2 separate regions of the Homo sapiens genome follow, and region 2 is linked to region 1. The links are contacts of gene promoters, found by promoter capture Hi-C in human tissues and cell types (Jung and others, 2019). All regions are on one chromosome and are shown on one strand. Each heading gives the region's core, a stretch centred on a gene start or on the middle of the fragment in contact. The rest is flanking DNA. Distances are from core to core; before and after follow the strand shown.

Region 1 (3,889 bases), core at 1,167-3,666:
TGAGCCTGCAGCACCTCCTTCTCTAGTTTTGTTAAGGACACTTAGATAAGTGTTATGTAAATGTAGTTTCAAGTTCATGCCCTCACATCCCCTGCCTTAAACTCCAGTTGGGTCATCTGGAGCTGCTTCCAGAAACCAGCCATAGGAAGTGACCAGCACAGTCCTGCAGTCTAAGGAGAGACAGTGTGGTGTAGCGGTTAGAAGCAGACTCAGGAGCTGTGCCATACCTGGATTCAAAACTCTTTAGAAGTCTAGGTTTCCCCATCTGCAAAATGGAAATGATAACAATAGAACTCACTTCATAGGGTGCATGAGTTAGTGTATCTAAGGCTCTTTGCAGAGTGTCTAGGGGCATAGTAAGTGCTCAGTAAACACTAGCTGCCAGGTAGTGTTATGGGAAAGGATGCCCTCAAGTCCTCTAGAAGAGGGATCAGGGACCCTCTGGCCGAACAAAGAGCTTTCCCTGATGGCACAAAAATGAAGAGGGGGGGTGACAATGAGTTTCAATGACTCCAATACCAGCCAGGGAACTGGACCTTGAGGAGCTGATCGCCTGCAGATCTTTAAGCTGGGGTTAGTCGTTGTCAGTTTCCAGGGTAGAAAGACCTTACTGGTTGCCAATCGTGAGGTCCAGAGTGAGCCTCTAGCTTCTTGGACTTCCTGGAAAGTTGGGGTGCATTTCGAGTTGACACAATGATGAAAGGGGTAAGTCCTAGGGACCGGGGCTGGTCCTGGGTGGCCTTGCAATAGAAAGGAGAGTCTCACACCACAAAGAAAGGACCCTCCTCCCATGCCTCCTGCCAGGGCCTATTGTGGCTGCAACCATGCTCCTAATAACCTAACCCAAGCCCTAACTCGTTTGTCATATAAACTTAAAGGATTTCTTGCACAGTGTTAATAAGACACCGAATTTTCCAGGAAAGCAACTATTGTGTCAATTGAGGGAAGACTGGACTTTGTGCTGTTCATAACCTGATTAAGAGGGGTTTTGACTAAGCCTGGGCACCTTCTCAAGGTCTCCTTGAGAAAGGGACACCTGAACTGAGAGCTGAAGAATGAGCAGGGGCCGACAGAGGAAGAGGAAGGGAAGAGTGTCCCACGGTGGTGTTGGAAATTAAAGCTCGAAGTCTCAAGGAAAACCAGCACTGAAATAAAAGATTTTTCAGCAAAGCCAATTTACTTCTGCAGAAGGGTGCCACTCACACATCTGGTCTTCAGGAAAGCACACCGAACAAAAGAGAGAAGGGGTTTTTATCCCTAATGCGGTTAGTCGCTGCTTCTGTGTCCTGTTCCCATTGGCTGGGGCTGGACTGCGCAATCTAAGCTAATCCCGATTGGCTAGTTCAAATGGAGCAGAAATGTGGGCTACAGTGGTAGGGCAAGCGGTTTCGGCAGGAAGAAGAGTTTCCGCGGGAATGGCAATTGTAGCGAGGGTATCCAAGGGAACAGATGTGAGTTATAGATTAGGACCCGCGGGAAGGTTGTTTACCGTAACTAGGGGTAAGGAGGTACAAAGAACAAGGAAGTTAGGCTTTGAAAATAGAGAACAAAGAACAAGTAAGCTGAACAAGTAAGTTCCTCTTTGGAGAGGCAAGAGGGCAAAGAAGCTGAGGACCCAGAAGACAGGATTGTGCCTAAGAAAGTGGCCTTGGAGCAGAGGCCCAAAGAAAGCGGGGAGAGCGCCTTGCCCATCGGTAAGGGAAAGGTGCTCCAGGCACAGAAGCAGCTAATGCAACGGCCCTGAGGCAAATGCAAGATAACTGGCAAGTTCCAGGAACAGCAAGGAGGGCAAGGCGCCTGGAGCAGAGGAAGCTAGCGGATCCCTTGATGAGAGGGAGGAACTGGCCCATCTCTCATGGGTCCTGCAGGCAGGCCATGAGACTGTCTTTTATGCGGGGCGAGATAACGAGGCATGGACGTGTTGTGAGCGGAGGCCTAGCCTGTTCAAGGTCTGAATTTTTACCCCTAGAATGTAAGAAGCATGGGAGCAGGGACTTTGTTTTGCTCCCTGCCATATCCACAGCCCTAGAAAAACGTCGGGCCATTGATAGCTCTCAGTAAATGCTTGACAAGTAAGTGAATGAACGAATGCACAATTAATGAAATGAGGGCTGCGTCAATGAATAACTGGGAATCTGACTCCTGCAGGGAGCCTTCAGCCCACAGGTGTATGTAAGACCCGCCCCGCCTCTCATCCTTCGGGCTCCCACCCCCGCCGTTAGGCTGCGGTTCGCGCCGCGGTCGCCAGAGGGCGCGGAGCGGCGGGGCTTCCCGCACGGAGGGCTTTGCGTGAGGCACCGCGTGGGGCGGGGCTGCGGGCGGGCTCCCAGCTGCTGGGCCCTCATCGGCTGGGCCTCGTCGACCGGCAAGCGGAACGCGGCAGCGGGGCTGGGCCTGTGCGGCGGCCGCCGGAGCGCTTTGGAAGGCGCACGGGGCGAAGATGGCGGCGGAGCGACAGGAGGCGCTGAGGGAGTTCGTGGCGGTGACGGGCGCCGAGGAGGACCGGGCCCGCTTCTTTCTCGAGTCGGCCGGCTGGGACTTGCAGGTAGCGCCGCGCGGCGGGCTGTGTCGGGTGGGCCGGGGACTGCTGGGAGCGGGCGCCTGGTGCCTTAAGCCCGCGGCGGCCGAAGCGCACAGTCATCCCCGCTCTACCGCGGCCCGACCCAGGCCTCATGGTCCCGGGACCGCTTGTCACGCGTCGCCTGCTCGGCTTGGGAGTGGGGGAACGCGGGCCAGCCCCAGCCAGTTCTGCCGTGCCAGTTTCACCCTGCCTCGCCCGCTTGCGGCGTCAGCGAGACTTCGGGCGCTGCGGCAGCCGGCGAGGAGAGGGAGCGCCTGGGGGCGTGGCTGCCGCGCCGAGTATCTGCTGGAGGCCGGGCTGGTCCGAGTGAGCAGCTCTTGGGTGAAGCCCCACTCGGGACTAGGTGGCCGCTCATTTCCACTTCCGAAGTCCAGCCCGGGAGTTGACCGCCGCCCAGCCTTCCTAATTGCTGGGAGAATACCTCTGGGGTGGTGGCGCAAGGTTGGAGCTTCTTCACCTTGCGTAGTTAACTTATCTGTAAAATGGGAGTCTCGTGGAAATTGCTGTGTAGTTCATTGGCACGTACTGAGTATTCACTAAATACTTGCTAAGAAGACTTAAGCTTCACGAGGCAGGGATTTTTGTACACTGATGAATTCCCAGTGCCTGGAACAATGCCTGGCACATAATAAGCATTCGGTAATTAACTGTAGAAAGAATTGCATAAATATTCTTGGCCAGCTTCGTCTTAGGTAGATGATGACGGTGATGACTAATATTTATTGAGTACCTACCATGAGCCAAGCGCTGTTCTGACTGCTTTACATGTCTTTTGTCATTTAACCTTCGCATTTTGCAGCTGAGATTAAAGAGGTTAAGTAACTTGCTCAAGGCCTCACTAGCTACCAGGCAGAAGAGGTAGAAGTGGAACCCAGTTCTGTCTGATTGCAAGCAGACAGAGCCCAAGCTTTAAACCACCATGTGCCAAGCACTTTACATAATATGATTCGTTGGATCCTAGCAACACTATGAGGTAAAGACTAGACCCATTTTATGGATGAGGAATTGGAAGCACAGAGGGCAAAGAATTTGCTCAGGGTCACATAGCCAGTAAGTAGCGGGGTTGGAATTTGAACTGAGTCTGCTGCCAAACGTAAATTACTCCCCAAACATAAGAATTCGGTAAAGCATCACACCTAGATCACACCTAGACACAATGGGAAGCCCCTATGCTGGGCAGAAATAAAAAGTTTCTACCTGAAAGACCTAAAAGCACACAGTGTTGTGACCAACAGATCTTCTGTCTCGTTCCCCTCACATTGTAGTGGGGAAACTGAGGATCATGCATGTGACTTGCCTGGCAGGAAC
Region 2 (4,176 bases), core at 875-3,374, 810 kb after region 1:
CTAACTTCCACTTGTGGACATTCGCATGTAATGATGTGATGTTTTGAGCTACAGTAGCCATCTTGGGACCATGAGGGGCACACCGCAGGATAACAGAACACCAAGGATGATGGCACAAAAGGATAGACAGAACCAGGGTCTTTTTTTTCTGAGAGAGTCTCACTCTCTCACCCAGGCTGTAGTGCAACGGCATGATCTCAGCTCACTGCAACCTCTGCCTCTCGGTTTCAAGCAATTCTCCTGTCTCAGCCTCTGGAGTAACTGGGACTACAGGCGCGCGCCACCATGCCTGCCTAATTTTTGTACTTTTGGTAGAGACAGGGTTTCACTATGTTGGCTAGGCTGGTCTCGAACTCCTGGCCTCAAGTGATTCGCCTGCCTCAGCCTTCCAAAGTGCTGGGATTACAGGTGTGAGCCACCGGGCCCAGCCAGAACTGGAGTCTTTGGTCACATTGTTCAACTGCCTCTTTACCAACCTTGGACATACCTACCTCCAAACATTTTATTATGTGAGAAAACAAACCTTCTTATTGCTTAAGCCATTTTGAATTGGGCCATAGATATCTTAACACAGAGAATTTGATACCAGGAAATGAGGCCTCCCTGGGTACACCATGATGATAGAATCAGGCCAGAGCTCCACTTTTCCACTCTAGAAACTGTTATCCTGCCATTCTTACTTCCTGTAATGAGGAAGATGTTTTAGAAGGGATAACTTCCCTCTTGATGAAATTCTCTAATTCTGAATAATTCTGGGGCTGAGGTGTGGGTGTCAGTTCTACTTCTTGAAATAAAGTATCATTTAGGTGCGCACGGGAATTATGTTTCGAAAGGGAAAGGCTGGAGTCTTGGTGTCAGTGTTCTAAGGTTTTGTGAGAGACTAAGAACCCAAAATAAATGATCTTCAACAGCAAAATGGATGTTATGCAATTCACAGAGCACTATGAGCACTCTCTCAATTCACACAACTTTGAGTGATGGGCAGCATGACTTCATTTTACAGACGGGGTTCAGAAAGTGTCAGCAACTGGTGGAAGGCAAAGTAGAAACTCCTGGCTCCCTCCTTCGTCTCCAGTTTTCTCCAGCTGGCAGGGTAAGTATGCATTTCTCCATGTTCGTGCCATTCAGGTTGAGAAGGAAGACAAGCAAACCAGACATGCTTGTCTTCGACCGAGTCTGGGATCGTCCACCTTCCTGCTTGGAGTTGGTGGTTAAGTGGCCCCACAGTTTGGACTCGTGTGACCTGACTTTCATTTCAGCTGACCTTGAACAGCGGGTCTATAACTGCACCTACTTCCAGTAGTGTTGTAATGACACAAACAGACAGTGTGGAACTTGAAGGCAGGGCCCACCCATTGTCAGCGCGACTCCTGAGGGCTCCGTGTGACAGTCACTGTTGCTGAACCAAGGCAGCCAACGGTGGGGTAGAAGGCGGACTCTGGAGCCAGACCGTCTGGATTTGAACGCGGATTCGGCCACTTACTAGTTCCGTGATCTTGGGTACATCACTTAAACCTGTGTCTCAGTCTCCTCTTCTGTAAAATGGGAATAACAGTCATACCTTCCTTGCAGGGTTGTTTTGAGGTTCAGATACGTTAATACACGTGCAAAATGTTCGGAACGACTCCAGACACAGCCGGCGCCAGACTGGAAGTGGAACCGCTGGTGGGGATCATAACCTCGCTGGCTAGGAACCCCAGCAGCGGGGCAGCAGCGCACCGCGGGCTTTGCCGACTCACCCTGGCTGGGCAGGTCCGCCGCGCTCTCCCCCGCCCCCGCCCCCGCGGCCTAAGTCGGCCCGGCCGGTGCGTCACCCGCGCCCCTCCCGCCCCGCGACCTGCAAACTCACCCTGAGTCAGCCCGCCCGGGCGTTTCCACTCCCCGGACGCCGCGCGGCGCAGGGGAGGCGAGAGGCGCCCCCCGGTGGAGAGCCTGAGCCCCGCGCGAGTCTGGCGGCACCTGGCGAGCGGAGCCGGAGTCGGGCTGGGGACCGCGGGGTCGAGGCCGGACCGCGGCGGGGTCGGGGGAGAAACGCGCGCTGCCCTGGCACGGGCCCCCCCCCCCGGCCGCGCGGAATGGTATGGCCCGGCCGGAGTTAAGGCCGGGGGGAGGCGGCGAGTCCCGCGGCGGCGGCGACGATGGGGCTGCGTGCAGGAGGAACGCTGGGCAGGGCCGGCGCGGGTCGGGGGGCGCCCGAGGGGCCCGGGCCGAGCGGCGGCGCGCAGGGCGGCAGCATCCACTCGGGCCGCATCGCCGCGGTGCACAACGTGCCGCTGAGCGTGCTCATCCGGCCGCTGCCGTCCGTGTTGGACCCCGCCAAGGTGCAGAGCCTCGTGGACACGATCCGGGTGAGGCCTCGGGGAGTCCAGCCAACCGGAGGGAGGGCTTCGGAGGAGGGAGGTTGCCGGAGGAGGGAGGTCGCTGCGATGGACGCGAGACGGACTGGTTCCGGGCCCAGCCGGAGCTCAGCCTCTGCTGTGTGACCTTGAGCAAGTAGCTGGGCCTCTCTGGGCCTCTGTTTCCTCACTTGAGCAAGGAGGGAATTGGGCGAGATAATTAAAGTAGTGATGATAACGCTTATAACGCTAGTGCTTGCAGTGGTCCAGGAACTGCAGGAAGTCCCTCAGTTTCCTATGCCAACCCTAGGAGGTAGATAGTGGCTCTTTTGCAGACGAGAACTGAGGCAGGGAAGATTTCAGCGGCTTGACTAAGATCAGGCGCTTAAAAAGTGACACGGCTGGAATTCACACCCAGGCAGCCTGGGCCCCACTGCCCAGCACATGGCCACCGCACTACCCGGAGATAAGCCGTGGGCTCTCATGGCTGTGACAGTCAGTGACAGTGGGACTAGGTGTGTCATATCTGCTGGGAGGCCCTTGTCTGAATGGGAAGTGGGAGAGGTCAAGGGTCAGCTCCACCACTGAGGAAGGGTGTTAAGAATACCGGAGTGATTCTGGCAGGAACTTGGGGGCCCCGCAAGAACAGGTGTCAGGTTAGGCCTACATAACGTTGTGTCCCCTTCCCCCGACCCTTGGAAGGTGAGCACATGAGATCCCTAAGCCCCACCCAGCACCTCTACAGCCACCCCCGATAACTTTCAGTCCTAGTATTTACACTAGTGTCCTCACTGCCTGGAGCCACTTCCCCAGACAACCACAGGGCCTGCTCCCCTGCCTGGTTCAGCTCTCTGCCTCCTTGATCACCCTTGGTCAGAGTCACTGGCCTCTCTAGCTCTCCCCTTAGCCCGAGATGTTTTTCAGGATACCACTTATGTCCACCAGAAATTATATTATACATCTATTTGTGTTGCATTTTATTTTCTGTCTTCCTGACCTCACGTGCACTCCACAAGGGCGAGGACCTCGTCCCATCTTATCTGTTGCCACAATAGTAGCACGGCGCCTGGCTGAGATGGGAAGGGATCTGCCATGCATGCCCTGTCCCACCACTGGGCTTTTTCTCCCGTTGAGAACCTCTTCTATCTCTGCCTTGTCGTTTCTCACTCTTTCTCGGTCTTCCTGTCTCAGTGTCAGGATCTTCCCTGACCATCCCTACCGGGTTAGGAGCTTCTGTGGGCCTGCAGCCACCTGTGTGCCCACCTGCATAGCTCTGATCTCACTGGCTTTTTTTTTTTTTTTTTAAGACGTTGTCTGGGTCTGTCACCCTGGCTGGAGTGCAGTGGCACGATCTTGGCTCACTGCAACCTCCGCCTCCCGGGTTCAAGCCATTCTCCTGCCTCAGCCTCCCAAGTAGCTGGGATTACAGGCGCCCACCACCACGCCTGGCTAATTTTTGTATTTTTAGTAGAGATGGGGTTTCACCCTGTTGGCCAGGCTGGTCTGAAACTCCAGACCTCAAGCGATCTGCCCACCTCGGCCTCCCAAAGTGCTGGGATTACAGCCCACTGGCTTTTAACGTCCTGTCTAGACACCTGCCTTCCGTGCTAGAACCGTAGGCTCTGAGGGCCAGAACCAGCTCTGCCTTTGCTTACATACACCTGTATTAGTTTTCTGGGGCCACTGTAAGTTACCACAAAGTTGATGGCTTAAAACAACACAGGTTTATTTATGGTCAGAAGTCCAAAATGGGTCTTACTGGGCTAACACCAAGCAGGGCTGCACTACTTTCTGTAGGCTCTAGGGGAGAATCCATTTCCTCGCCTTTCCCAGCTTCCAG

The links. Contacts are between HindIII fragments. The study calls those that stand out against the background at their distance.
Region 2: a contact is called between the fragment with the promoter of SRXN1 here and the fragment with the promoter of NSFL1C in region 1, in 1 of the 25 tissues and cell types used here (lymphoblastoid cells).

What each region holds. Positions count from the first base shown.
Region 1 is chr20:1,465,376-1,469,264 of GRCh38, reverse strand. NSFL1C (NSFL1 cofactor) reads left to right here and starts at 2,416. Exons shown (of 9, transcript NM_016143.5): 1 at 2,416-2,545. The coding sequence starts at 2,441. RefSeq lists a silencer at 2,122-2,391 and an enhancer at 2,686-3,187. The HindIII fragment of the contact is 15,990 bases long and covers 1-3,316 here.
Region 2 is chr20:651,148-655,323 of GRCh38, reverse strand. SRXN1 (sulfiredoxin 1) reads left to right here and starts at 2,124. Exons shown (of 2, transcript NM_080725.3): 1 at 2,124-2,348. The coding sequence starts at 2,139. LOC107985423 (a long non-coding RNA gene) reads right to left here and starts at 2,371. Exons shown (of 2, transcript XR_001754452.2): 1 at 1,850-2,371; 2 at 1-1,535. RefSeq lists a silencer at 1,687-2,246. The HindIII fragment of the contact is 30,072 bases long and covers 1-4,176 here.